Linked DNA regions of Homo sapiens: region 2 is linked to region 1. The links are contacts of gene promoters, found by promoter capture Hi-C in human tissues and cell types (Jung and others, 2019). All regions are on one chromosome and are shown on one strand. The core of a region is centred on a gene start or on the middle of the fragment in contact, and the rest is flanking DNA. Distances in the headings are between cores, read along the strand shown.

Region 1 (6,566 bases), core at 1,214-3,713:
AACCCAGGAGGCGGAGCTTGCAGTGAGCTGAGATTGCACCACTGCACTCCAGCTTGGGCAACAGAGTGAGACTCCGTCTCAAAAAAAAAAGAAAGAAAATGAATAGTATTGTTGCAGATTGATAAGTGCTGCACAGAAAATAAACAGGGTGACAGGGATAAACAGTAAATGGGGTGAGGCATGGTGGCTCCTGCTTGTAATCCCAGCACTTTGGGAGGCTGAGTCTGGAGGATCCCTTGAGGCCAGGAGTTTGAGATCAGCCTTAACAACATAGTGAGACCCCATCTCTATTAAATAAAATTTTACAAAACCCAACAAAACAAAAAAGCCCATAACAAAAAAATAAATGGGTGGACATTATGGGCAGGGGGTGGGGAGGCATCAGAGAAGGCCTCTGTGAGATGTGATCTGAGACCTGAAGGAGAGTAAAAGGTGGGCTGTGAAGAGCTGGAAAGGGTTTTCTAGGCAGAGGGAGCAGCAGAAAAGGCCTGGCTGGGTGTGGTGGCTCACTCCTGTAATCCCAGCACTTTGGGAGGCTGAGGTAGGAGGACTGCTTGAGCCTAGGAGTTTGAGACCAGCCTAGGCAACACAGTGAGACCTCGTCTTTACAAAAAATACAAAAATTATCCAGGTGTGGTGGTGTGCATCTGTAGTTCCAGCTACTCGGGAGGCTGAGATGGGAGGATCACCTGAGCCCAGGAGGTTGAGGCTGCCGTGAACCATGATTGCACCACCGTACTCCTGCCTGGATGACAGAGTGAGACCCTGACTGCAAGAAACAACAGCAACAAAAAAAACAACAACAAAGGCTTGGAGGTGGGGAAGTTTCTGGGACCCTGGGGAATTCAGGGTTTCAGCCTAAAGAAGCGCTGAGCAGGAGGGTAGGAGCGGGTCAGAAATTCAGTCCTAGGGACAGCCTAAGGCCAGGTCCTGGGCTGGGGGTTGGAGGGGCAGAGCCAGCTCTTCTGAATGCCACCCTTGCCGCCTGTTGCTTGGTACCACAGCAAACAGAGCCTCTGGCAGGCCTGCCCTTGCTGCCTTAGCTCTCCTCTGGCGGGCAGCAGATGTCAAATGCCCAGCAGCTGAGGCTTCGCCAGCCTCCTCCCCTGGAATAGTTCGGGGGTAAGTCAGAAAATGACCAGCAGCCTCAAAACCTGGCTTTTTCTCGTGCGTACCTTACAAGGGTATATTTGGCTGCCCTGGGTGTTAAATCTTCCACCCCCTTGCATTAGACAGAGAAATATAAATATACAGCCACAGGCAGCACACTCAGACGCGAGGATGAATGAACATTTATCAACCCCCAGTCACGCACAAGCACACAGTCAGAGTCACAAGCGGGACCATATGCATGCCCCCCACACAGAGTCAAAACCGCCAGCCCCACAAAGACACTCCACCATGGCACAATCACCACACACATTCACCCTGAGATCACACAATCACACATCCACATGCTCACACACAGACATGTACCCCACAATCACCGCAGAGTCACACAGGGGCACACAAGCCCACACACATTCAACACCACGGCATGCTTCCCCCACCGGCCTCCCAGGCACCCCAGCCCCTGGGGCTTGTTATGGTGCCAGCATTCTTCTGCGATTGAGTCAAAGACCTCCCCAGACAGGGTAGCTAAGTGGAAAAAGGAATCCGAAGGAAGAACGCCTGAAGCCCAGGTCTGGGAAGGGGCCCAGCAGCTTCTCTCTTGGGGAGAAAGACGTCAGTGCTGGTTTGACCCTCACACTAGTGGGCTGAGGACGTGGGGGGAGGTATGTCTTGAAGTTGACAGAAGTGGGCTGAGTGGGGTGACAGGTGGAGCAGGAGAGAGACCCCAGGAAGCCTCAAAGGGTGGGGCAGAAAGTGGGGTTAAATATGGACTCAATGTGATAGGCGTAAACTCCTCCGCAGTTCTCTCTAACCCCAGCCACCCAGCCCGCCCCCAGGCTCCAGGCTGTCCCCAAACGCGCGGGGTGTGGCCGTGAACCCTCCTCCCCGGCCGCGCCCTGCCCCGCCCTTCACGACAGCTGCCGGGGACAGCCCGGAGTGCCCAGAGGGTGGCTGCGGCCCTTCCCCTCTTGGGTGGGGACCAGAGGGCGCTGAGCGGCAGCGGACACCCCCAAACACTCGCGGGAGAGGGGTGCTGGCTCCCTTTGAGCAGCCCGCCCAACCCTGCCTCCACCCTCCCAGGCTGGACAGGGAAGGTGCTCCCTGGGGCTTCAGACCCCCCTTCTGACTCCCCCTGCAACGGGACCTCACGAAAGGAAGGGTGGAGAGAAGGTTCGGGAAGACGAGGGGGCTGGGAGGTTTGGAAAGACAGCTCCAGGCCCCCGTTCCCACCCCCGCCCCAGGCTGGTCCGGGAGGGGCAGCCTCTCCCCGCCCCCAGGTCCGCGCGGCCGCTCCCTCCTCCCCCGGCAGGAGCCCCGGCCAAGTGGGCGCGCCCGGCCCGGGGCCGGCCGGGATCCGGTGTCGGTTGCAGCTGGCAGTGCGGCGGGCGCGGGCGCCGGAGCGAGGGGCCCGCGGGCCCGGCTATTAATAACGCGGCCGCCAGCCCGGGGTCGCGCAGCCATGGCCAGCCCGGAGCCCCGGCGCGGCGGGGACGGCGCCGCCCAGGCCGCGAGGTAGGACAGTGCCGGGCCCGCGTCGCCGCCCCGCTGGGGAAGGGGTGCTGCTGGACGGGTTCCCTTTCCCCCCGACCGCGGGCGTCTTTCGCCTGTCTAGGGGTAGTGGTCCAGCCGGGGTGGGGCACTGGAGCCGCCTCGTGAGGGGACATCGGGGAGTCGGGCCGTCCCGGGGTCCTGGCACCTCCGTTTGTCTGTGGCTTTTTATAATACCCCTCCCCCTCCCGGGACTACATGAAAATTAACCCTTCCAGGCGAGTGGGCATCCACCGCTCAAGTGCCATTTGGCCCATAGCAGCCAAAGACACTTCTCGCTAGCCTTCATTCCTCCCTGCAAATGTCAGTTGGAGACAGAGGCCTCCCCTGCTGAAGTGGCTGTGTGGAAGCCACTTGGTGCAAGGCTGGGCATCTGCCAGCTTGAAGTTAAGAGTCTGTCAGGGCTTGTTCTCTCCCGTCTGGCCTGGGATGGGTGGGGGAAGGGTCCAGGGGCCCTCCCCACTATCCCTCCTGGCAGGGCACGGCTGATTATTGGGGGAAGGGACCTGTGGCTGAGGGGTTTGGGGTGAGGTGTATTTCTGTCCCAGGTCATACTGTGGCTCTGGGACTTCCCAGTGTACCAAGAGGTGAGGGTGCAAATACATAGCTCCCGACACCCCTTCACTGTCACACAGGGGCACAAAGCTGAGCGGTCTTACACACACACACTCACCCATACTGCTGTCCACACCTACAGCTACAGTCAGACACACGGACTCTTGCCTGCACAATGTCACATGGACTCCCAGCCACATCCCTGAACAGGGTTGGAGAGCTCTGCGGTTCTCTGGGGACAGGGACAGAGTGGCAGAGGCAGGCTGCCCAGGGCCCAAGGAAGCCCGAGGTCAGGGGCCCCAACTAAGCTGGCTTCCTCTCCTCTGAGCCTCCTGTCATCTGCTTCTTTCCCTCCTCTCTCTGTTTAAAAGAGGCGGCTGTGTGAGGGCAGCACCCAGCAGAGGCCTGGCACCATGGGTGGGGTGGTGGAGGCAGCACGATGTGTGCTAACAGCACAGCTTGGAGGTCAGGAGGCCTGGGTTTTACTTCCAGCTTTGCCATTCGACCTTGGGCAGATTTCCTCCTTGGAGTTCATCTGGTTTCTGCCTGTCTGCCCTTACAGAGCCCCACCCTAGGATATAGAGCAGAATGAGAACTCTGCTTGTCCTTAGGAAACTCACTATCAGGGAGACAGACACATGTACTTCTGTAACTGGAGCAATAAGTGTGAAGATGTGCTGCATACAGAGTGCCCTGAGAACACACATGGGGCTGTCTGGGAGATACTTTACGGAAGAGATGAAGTTTGAGCAGGGCTTGAAGGATGAGTAGAAATTTGTTAGATAGATAGAAGTATATTGTGGGCCCGGCGCGGTGGCTCACGCCTGTAATCCCAGCACTTTGGGACGCCGAGGTGTGCGGATCACCTGAGGTCAGGAGTTCAAGACCAGCCCGGCCAACATGGTGAAACCCGGCTCTACTAAAAATACAAAAATTAGCCAGGCGTGGTGGCGTGTGCCTGTAATCCCAGTTACTTGGGAGGCTGAGACAGGAGACTTGCTTGAACCCAGGAGGCAGAGGCTGCAGTGAGCGGAGATTACACCATTGCACTCCAGCCTGGGCAACAAGAGTGAAACTCCATCTCAAAAAAAAAAAAAGTATATTGTGACTGCTGCATGCCAGGCTTTTTATATGTGCTGTAGTTACCTCTTTTGGACCTCACGCCTATCCTAGGAGGGTGGTAAATACTGCAGGCCTTCTCCAGCCTCCACCACTTACAACAGTTGTGGAACCTTGTGTGAGTTCTTACTCTGTGCATTGGCTTCCTCATCTATAAAATGGAGATAATAGATGAAGATTCTTTCTTTCTTTCTTTTTTTGAGACAGAGTCTTGCTCTTGTTGCTCAGGCTGGAGGGCAATGGCGCAATCTCAGTTCACTGCAACCTCTGTCTCCCAGGTTCAAGCAATCCTCCTGCTTCAGCCTCCTGAGTAGCTAGGATTACAGGCACACACCACCATACCCAGCTAATCGTTTGTATTTTTAGTAGAGACGGAGTTTCACCATGTTGGCCAGGCTGGTCTCAAACTCCTGACCTCAGGTGATCCACCCGCCTCGGCCTCCCAAAGTGCTGGGATTACAGGCGTGAGCCACTGCACCCAGCCAATAGATGATGAGGATTCTATAAATGAGTATTCATGTAAAATGCCTAGAATAATCTTGAACACGGTGAAGTCATTCCAAGGTGGGCGGCTCGGCACGAGAATGATGAAAGGGCCGTCTGCTGGGAAAGCAGGGACTGTTGAATATCAGAGTGAGTTTGGCTGGCTGAGCAGGTGCATCCTTCCTGGCCCTGGCTCTAGGAGCTCTGCCTTCCCAGGTAGTACAGGGTTCTCTAGTTAGGTGGTTTTTGAGAAGCTGCAATTCTCAGCTGGACACCGTGGGCTTAGAGTAGGAGGTGTAAAAAGTTAATGCAAGCTCTAGGATGTCAAGCATTGGGTGGGTTGCAGGAATAATGTGAGAGGAAGCTAAAAAAGGTATGTTTGGGGCCGGGTGTGGTGGCTTATGCCTGTAATCCCAGCACTTTGGGAGGCCGAGGCAGGCGGATCATGAGGTCAGGAGTTCGAGACCAGCCTGACCAAGATGGTGAAACCCTGTCTCTTCTAAAAATACAAAAAATTAGCCAGGCATGGTGGTGGGCGCCTGTAGTCTCAGCTACTCGGGAGGCTGAGGTAGAGAATTGCTTGAAACCAGGAGCCGGAGGTTGCAGTGAGCCGAGATTGCACCACTGCACTCCAGCCTGGGCAACAGAGCGAGACTCTGGCTCAAAAAAAGAAAAAAAAAAAAAAAGGTATGTTTGGGCCACATCTTTAAGGACCTTGAAACCATGCGTAGCAATTTGGGTATTTATTGGTGAAGTGGAGCAATAGTTCACTCTGTGTTGTAGCAAGTTAACTGTGGTGGTGTAGAGAATAGATTGAGGTGAGGAGAGGAGGAAGTCCTTTTAGAAGACCAGGACAAAAGTGCCAGTGAGACAGGATGTCTTGGAGTAGGGCCCTGATAGTGGGATGCAGAAGAGGGGGATGGAGACTGTAGTCTTTCTAAGATAGAAAGGTCACTTTTTGGCCAGGCGCAGTGACTCGTGCCTGTAATCCCAGCACTTTGGGAGGCCATGATCCCTGGTGGATCACGAGGTCAGGAGATTGAGACCATCCTGGCCAACATGGTGAAACCCTGTCTCTACTAAATACACAAAAATTAGCCAGGCGTGGTGGCAGGCACCTATAGTCTCAGCTACTCAGGAGGCTGAGGCAGGAGAATCACTTGAACCCAGGAGGAGGAGGTTGCAGTGAGCTGAGACCACGCCACTGCACTCCAGCCTGGGCGACAGAGTGAAGCTCCATCTCAAAAAAAAAAAAAAAAAAGAAAAGAAAAGTCACTTCTCAGTGAACTGGCTATACAGGGGAGGGAAAGAGCTGTCTGAAGATTTCTTGCCTGTGGCCGGATGTGGTGGCTCATGCCTGTAATCCCAGCACTTTGGGAGGTCTAGGTAGGAGGATCGCTTGAGCTCAGGAGTTTGAGACCAGCCTGAGCAACATAGTGAGACTTCATCTCTACAAAAAGTTAAAAAATTAGCGGGTGTGGCGCTACGTGCCTGTAGTCCTGGCTACCCGGGAGGCTGAGGCAGGAGGATGGCTTGAGCCGGGGAGGTTGAGGCTGCAGTGAGCTATGATCATGCCACAGTACTCAGGCCTGGGCGACAGAGGGAGACTCCATCTCAAAAAAAAAAAAAAAGACAAAAACAAAAAAACAGAAACAGGAAAGACCAAAGCTATTTGCATTTGAGGGGCAAAGCAGCAAGAGAACACTCCCCAGTGGGAACTGACTGAGCTGGCAGGCAATAGGCAGCTG
Region 2 (6,566 bases), core at 2,280-4,779, 240 kb after region 1:
CTAGCCAGCATGCATTCCCCATTCTTTTGGTTCTAGTGCCTTTTTTCGGCTTTGATGGAAGCATCCTTCCCCCATTCTTGGCCAACATGCTTTGCATAAAGCTGGTGCCATCCTCAAGCACCAGGTGTGTAAGCTATAATGTAGGCTAATAAAATTAAGGCATCCCACCCTGTGACCACAGTGATTGGCTCGGAGATGGCCATGTAGTTTTCAGAGCCAATGAAAAGCAATGAAACATTTGCTGGAATTTCAAAAAAGAGCACTCTTTGCTCTGTGGGATGCAGGATGTGAGGGATGTTGCTGCCATACCACCAGGGAAGTCAGCCTAACAAAGATGACAGCCCAGCTCAGGCTGATGGAGCCTGGGGACAACATTGGAGCCCCAACTCAAGCAGTGCCAGAAGCCAATTAAGTTCCTTTTTGGTTTAGCTGGTCTGAGTTGGGTTTTCTTTTTTAAATATTATTATTATTATTTTTTGAGATGGGGGATGGGGTCTCACTCTGTCACCCAGGCTGCAGTGCAGTGGTGTGATCTCGGCCCACTCTGACCTCCGCCTCCCTGGCTAAAGTAATCATCCTACCTCAGCCTCCCGAGTAGCTGGGACTACAGGTACCCACCCCCACGCCAGGCTAATTTTTTTTGTACTTTTGGTAGAGACAGGGTTTTGCCATGTTGCCCAGGCTGGTCTCGAACTCCTGGCCTCAAGTGATCTGCCCCCCTCAGCCTCCTAAAGTGCTGGGGTTACAGGTGTGAGACACCACACCTGGCCTCTGAGTTGGGTTTTCTATTTCATGCAACTGGGAGACTCCTAACTGACTGATTCCACTACCCTTGGTTAACTCCTGTTTATTATTTATGTCCTGGCCCTTCTCTGTCAATGAACTACAAGCCCTTTGAAAGCATGAGCCATGTCTTATTCAATTTTATATCCCTTACAGTATCTGGCAGAGTGCTTTGGACAAAATAGATTTGTTAAGCAAAAAAGGAATATTCATTTCTTAACTGCTTAGTAGATAAACTATAAACCAAGTTTAAAATCCACTTGGGGCCGGGTGTGGTGGCTCACACTTGTAATCCCAGCACTTTGGGAGGCCAAGGTGGGTAGATCACCTGGGGTCAGGAGTTCGAGACCAGCCTGGCCAACGTAGTGAAACCCCGTCTCTACTAAAAATACAAAAAAATTAGCTGGGCATGGTGGCGGGCACCTGTAATCCCAGCTACTCGGGAGGCTGAGGCAGGAGAATCACTTGAACCCAGGAGGCGGTGGAGGCGGAGGCTGCAGTGAGCAGAGATTGTGCCACTGCACTCCAGCCTGGGCGATAGTGCGAGACTCCATCTCAAAAAAAAAAAAAAAAACAAGTGTGTGGAGGGACTTTCGCCTTTCATTTTAAACCTTTCTGATAGAATGTTTTACTATGTGCATGTATTGCTTTTCTTTTCTTTTGAGACGGGGTCTTACTTTGTTACCCAGGCTGGAGTGCAGTCCATGATCACAGTTCACTGCCGCCTCGACCTCCCAGGCTCAAGCAATCCTCCTACCTCAGCCTCCCAAGTAGCTGTGACTACAGGCATGCAGCACCACACTCAGCTAATTCTGAAAACATTTTTTTGTAGAGATGGGGTCTCACTATGTTGCCCTGGCTGGTCTCAATGGTCTTGAACTCCTGGACTCAAGTGATCCTTCTGCCTTGGCTTTTTTCTTTGTTAACTAAGAAAAAAAGGAGGCAGGGCAGAGGGGTAAGGAGTTGGTAAGCCAGGTAGATAAATATGTAAGTACGCACAACACTTCTTAACTTGTAGTATGGTCTGATCTATAGGGGCTCTTCCCAGGGCACTTCCGTCTTTCACTGGAAAAGCCTCCTTTCCAGAAATAGCACCTAAAACCAATTTCTTTTGGCTTTCTTACTGAAATTATTTTTTATTCTATTGCAATTATTTTTATTCTACTTCCTGACGTTGCAAAAGTCTATCCGTATAGTATTTTCTTCAAAATTTTCCCCAATCCTGTACTTGGTATATATTGTGTAAATATTTATTTATATCACCCCCATTTGCCTGAAGTGCTCTGCTGCCCCGGGAAGTGCTGAGGATCACCACTTATCCCAGAAGAGCAGCTCTTAGGGCAGACTGCTCTCAGAAGCACATTTATCCGCACTCTGGCAGGGAACCTCCCAACCATCCCACGGTTCCAACTCAATTCAACGGTTACCGGCTACATACAATGCCTGACACAAGGAAGATGCCAGGAATAGAAAAATGAACCAAGTATAGTGCCTGTCCTCCAGGAGACAGCAGATGCCAACACAACTACCTGCAATACAAACTCTCATATACCCTTGAGGGAGTCCTAGCCAGATCACACAACTGTCTCTGTTCAGAGGCCAAAAGCAGCCTTGAATTCCACCTCCGACCCTTTCTGACAAGACTCCTCCAGTCCCACCAACCTGAGAATAACAAAAACCTGCTCCTCAATTTTAGTAAATATTAAGCACTATTCCTTATAAAACACTGTACAAAGTACAAGCATATTCATTTTACTTTTTAAATTAAAATTTTTAAAAGGCACGGTCTTGCTCGGTTGCCCAGGTTGGAGTGCACGATCCTACCTCAATGCAGCCTGGAACTCCTGGGCTCAAGAGATCCTCCCAACCTTAGCTTCCCGAGTAGCAGGGACTACAGGTGCGCGCCACCATGCCTGGCTTTTACAAGCACATTAGTTTTCACCTCACAATAATCCAGTACGACAGATACTCTAACTACATCCTCTTTTTCAGAGGAGGAACTGAGATTCAAAGATGCAGATAACATCACCAAGTTAGTAATAGAACAGAGATCCGACTGACTCCCGGGTTGACATCCTTAACCACTATGCTAACCGGCCTCCTCAAACCCTCCAGGACACGATGCGACAGGTTGGGGAAGTCACTCCTTTCTTTTAGGCATGGATCGGAGGAGAAGGACACTGGAGAAGTTTCCATTTCCATACGAAGAATTTCAGGGTCAACTGCATCTAAACTGCTCGCAAGACAGACCCTCCCCCGTCCAGCATCAGACGACCTGCAGAGAGGCCACCAGAACCAGCTACAGGGCACGGCCCCCGAGGGTGGGACCCCAAGGCCTAGCCCCTCCCATGGCCTCCCGCGGACAAAGTGGCCATCGCTGCCGCTGGCACTTCTCCAGTGTGGCCGAGCCCCCCACGCCTGGGCACCATTCACCGTGGAAGTAGTCGGCGCCGCGACCCCCGGCTGGACGACGCGGAGGACACCCAATGACAGGGAAGCTGGGGCCCCACGGCCGCGCCTGCCCCTCCCCACGCTAGAAGGGCTCGCGGGGCGGAGGTCCCAGGAGTTGCCAGGGCCAAGCGGTCCGAAGGAGGATGACTGAGTGGGGGCAACCCTGCCCGCTAACCCCAATCTCCAGCCAGCCTCCCGGGTGCTAGGAATCCTCCCCAAACCAACGAAAGCGGCAGCGCCAACCCGCTTCTTCGCGCTCACCTTCCAGCGGGTTCCAGCAGCGCAGCCACGGAGCACCGCGCACCGACACGCCCCCCTTTCATTCACCTGGCGCCCTCCGATGAGAGGCGGGGCGGCTGGCCAATCGCGGGAGCGCCTGGCCTCGGGAAGGCGGGCCCTTCGGCCAGCAGGGTGGTCAATGGCGCTGGTGCCCCTCGGAGGATGCGCTCTGAAGGCGCTGGTGCTCGCAGGGTGATGGGAGTTGTGGTCTCAGCGCTGGCTTTTCGGGTAAAGATAGAGTGGACAAAACTACAAGTACCAAGATGCCAAAAGGGGCGAGGACCAGTGCTAGCGAAAGGCTGCAGCTCGGTTCGGTCTTTTGAGTCCCACTTGAGGGACCTGCCAAGTACCGGTCTCTTTGTCTGGAGAGCGAAAAGCACGTCGTGGGTATTAATGCAGTCCAGGGAATAAGAGCTTTGACTCATCAGTCCGCACATATTTCACCTACTGGCGCTTTCCGCAAAAATCTGGAAATAAGGGAAATGGTTTAATCGATTCAACAGGTTTTTATTGCATACCCGCGGTTTCTTTCACTGGGTAGTCGTTACAAAAGATAAAAGATTCAGCTCTTCCCTTGACAGGCTCTCCGGTTCATACATACTAGTGAAACGGTTAAATGGCAGTACTAGGTGCTAAGTGACCGTACAGGCGTGTTCTTGTCAGCTGTGAGCAAGACAAGGCAGCTTACCGCTCTCAGGGAGCTTAGTTCTCATGGGGGTGTATTCGTTTGCTAGGGCTGCTGTACCTAAGTATCACCAACCCGGTGGCGTCAATAACAGATCTTATTGTCTGACAATCCTGGGGGCATCTGAAAGCAAGATGTTGGCAGGGTTCTTTCCTTCTGAGCGCTGTGAGGAAACGGTCTCTTCCAGGCTTCTCTCCTGGGCTTGCATATGGCCATCTTCATGTTCACAGGGCATATTCCCTGTATATGTCTCCATGTCAAAATGTCTCCTTTTGGTTGCAGTGAGTCGAGATCGCGCCACTGCACTCCAGCCTGGGGCGACAGAGAGAGACTCCGTCTCCAAAAAAAAAGTATTTTTATAAGGATACCAGTCATATTGGATTAGGGGTTCACTCTATGCCAGTATGACTTTTTTTTTTTTTTTTTTTTTTTTTTTGAGACGGAGTCTCAGACTCTGTTGCCCAGGCTGGAGTGGTGGCGGGTGGATCACCTGAGGTCAGGAGTCCGAGACCAGCCTGGCCAACATGGTGAAACCCCATCTCTACTAAAAATACAAAAATTAGCCGGGCGTGGGCCAGTAATCCCAGCTACTTGGGAGGCTGAGGCAGGAGAATGCTTGAACCAAAGAGATTGCAGTGAGTGGAGATCTGGCCACTGCACTCCAGCCTGGGCAGCAGAGCAAGACTCTGTCTCAAAAAAAAAAAAAAAAAAAAAAAAGGCTACCCCCTTCGCTGAGAGACCCTAATGAGGAGTAGTGAGCCATGCTAAGATAAAACAGAAAACCGGTTGGTACATATCTAAGAAACAGGAGAATGCCATTGGGTTGAGGAAGTGGATGGCAGGTAGACCAGCTTAATGGACGTGCAACCCACGCAGTGGCACAGGCCCGCACACTCAGAAAGGGCTGGTGCTTCCAGGTGAGGTTTTATACTTAACAAAACAAAACAAAAAAAGAGCCAGGTGCGGTGGCTTACACCTGTAATCCCAGCACTTTGGGAGGCTGAGGCGGGCGGATCACTTGAGACCAGCCTGGCCAACATGGCAAAACCCAGTGTCTACTAAAAATACAAAAATTAGCTGGGCATGGTGACACATACCTGTAATCCCAGCTACTCGGGAGGCTGAGGCATGAGAATCACTTGAACATGGAAAGTGGAGGTTGCAGTGAGCTGAGATTGTGCCACTGCACTGTTTCAAGGAGGAGGAGGACGAGGAGGAGGAGAGAGGGAAGAGGGAAGAAGAAGAAGAGGAAGAGGAAGGAGAGGAAGGAGAAGGAGGAGGAGGAGAAGAAGAAGAAGAAGAAAGATTTAATTACTAACAAAAAGAAAATCTAAATAAATATTTTAAAAATTAAAAAAAAGGAAAGGGCTGATGCCTGGTTTAATGCTCTGCCATTGCCCTCTTAAAATTCTTAGTAGTTTTTGAACAAGGAGCTCTGCATTTTCATTTTGCATTGGGCCCCACAAATTATGTAGCCAGTCCAAGCGACAGGAAATATGAATGGATAGAGAAGCAAAGGCCAGATTATGTAGGAATTTGTAGGCCACCTTAAGGAGTTTGGATTTTTTCTTATGAATGTGAAGGGACACCTTCGAAGGATCTTAAGCAGGGAAGAGATAAGATATGATCTCTCCCCTGCTGATAGATGCTGATAACTGGGGATAGGGTAGAGGTGGTAGAGATGGAGGGGTTTGTTTAGGATATATTTTAGAGCTTGTCAAAAATGTAATTGCAGTTCACTCTAAAGATAACTTAATAATTTTAGAAGGTAAAATGTCAGCCAAACACCACTATACTATCTATCAAAGAAAAGTAGTTTACCTATTTCTTGTAAAGCTGGATACCCAGAGAGGGACAGCAGCAGTTACATCTTTCCTGTTAGTGTGGCTGTCCTTGCCACCTGGTTCCCAAAGGCCAGCTCAGGTGCTGAGGACTTTTGATCATCATAGCAGCAGAGAAAGCATCAGAAGTGAGGAGCACCAAGCTTCTCTGGGCTCAGCCTTTTGTATCTTCTTACCTGGGAAGTCATGTCACTGATGCCTTCACCTTAATTATGACTGTACCTGGAACTCACCCTAGTATTCATTCCACATCTCCTGCATCCAGGCTCCAAGTTTCAGGTCCCAAATTTTATGACTATGGCACACGCAACCTGTACTGGATGACCTAGTAACATTCCAGACTGCTAACGTAAAAGGGCTTTTTGGGGTGGCCTGCATAGGACATGCCCCTGACAACTAGGCATAGGAAATGTTAGAGGCCTTATGATCTCTAGATCTGTTGTGGTCTGCTGTGGGACTTACTCTCGCCACCAAGACCAGCACAACCTTTAGTGTTAGATGCTCTGAACTTCAGTATATTTTTCAAG

Evidence for each region. The method cuts DNA at HindIII sites, captures the fragments that hold promoters and counts their contacts. A contact is called where the count stands out against the background at its distance.
Region 2: the fragment with the promoter of ZBTB8B here is called in contact with the fragment with the promoter of SYNC in region 1 in 1 of the 25 tissues and cell types used here (adrenal gland).

What each region holds. Positions count from the first base shown.
Region 1 is chr1:32,698,667-32,705,232 of GRCh38, reverse strand. It overlaps SYNC (syncoilin, intermediate filament protein), which reads left to right and starts at 2,463. Exons shown (of 5, transcript NM_030786.3): 1 at 2,463-2,625. The coding sequence starts at 2,573. RefSeq lists silencers at 1,914-2,003, 2,054-2,103 and enhancers at 1,464-2,229, 2,230-2,995. The HindIII fragment of the contact is 12,190 bases long and covers 1-6,566 here.
Region 2 is chr1:32,462,035-32,468,600 of GRCh38, reverse strand. ZBTB8B (zinc finger and BTB domain containing 8B) reads right to left here and starts at 3,529. Exons shown (of 4, transcript NM_001145720.2): 1 at 3,496-3,529. The HindIII fragment of the contact is 24,686 bases long and covers 1-6,566 here.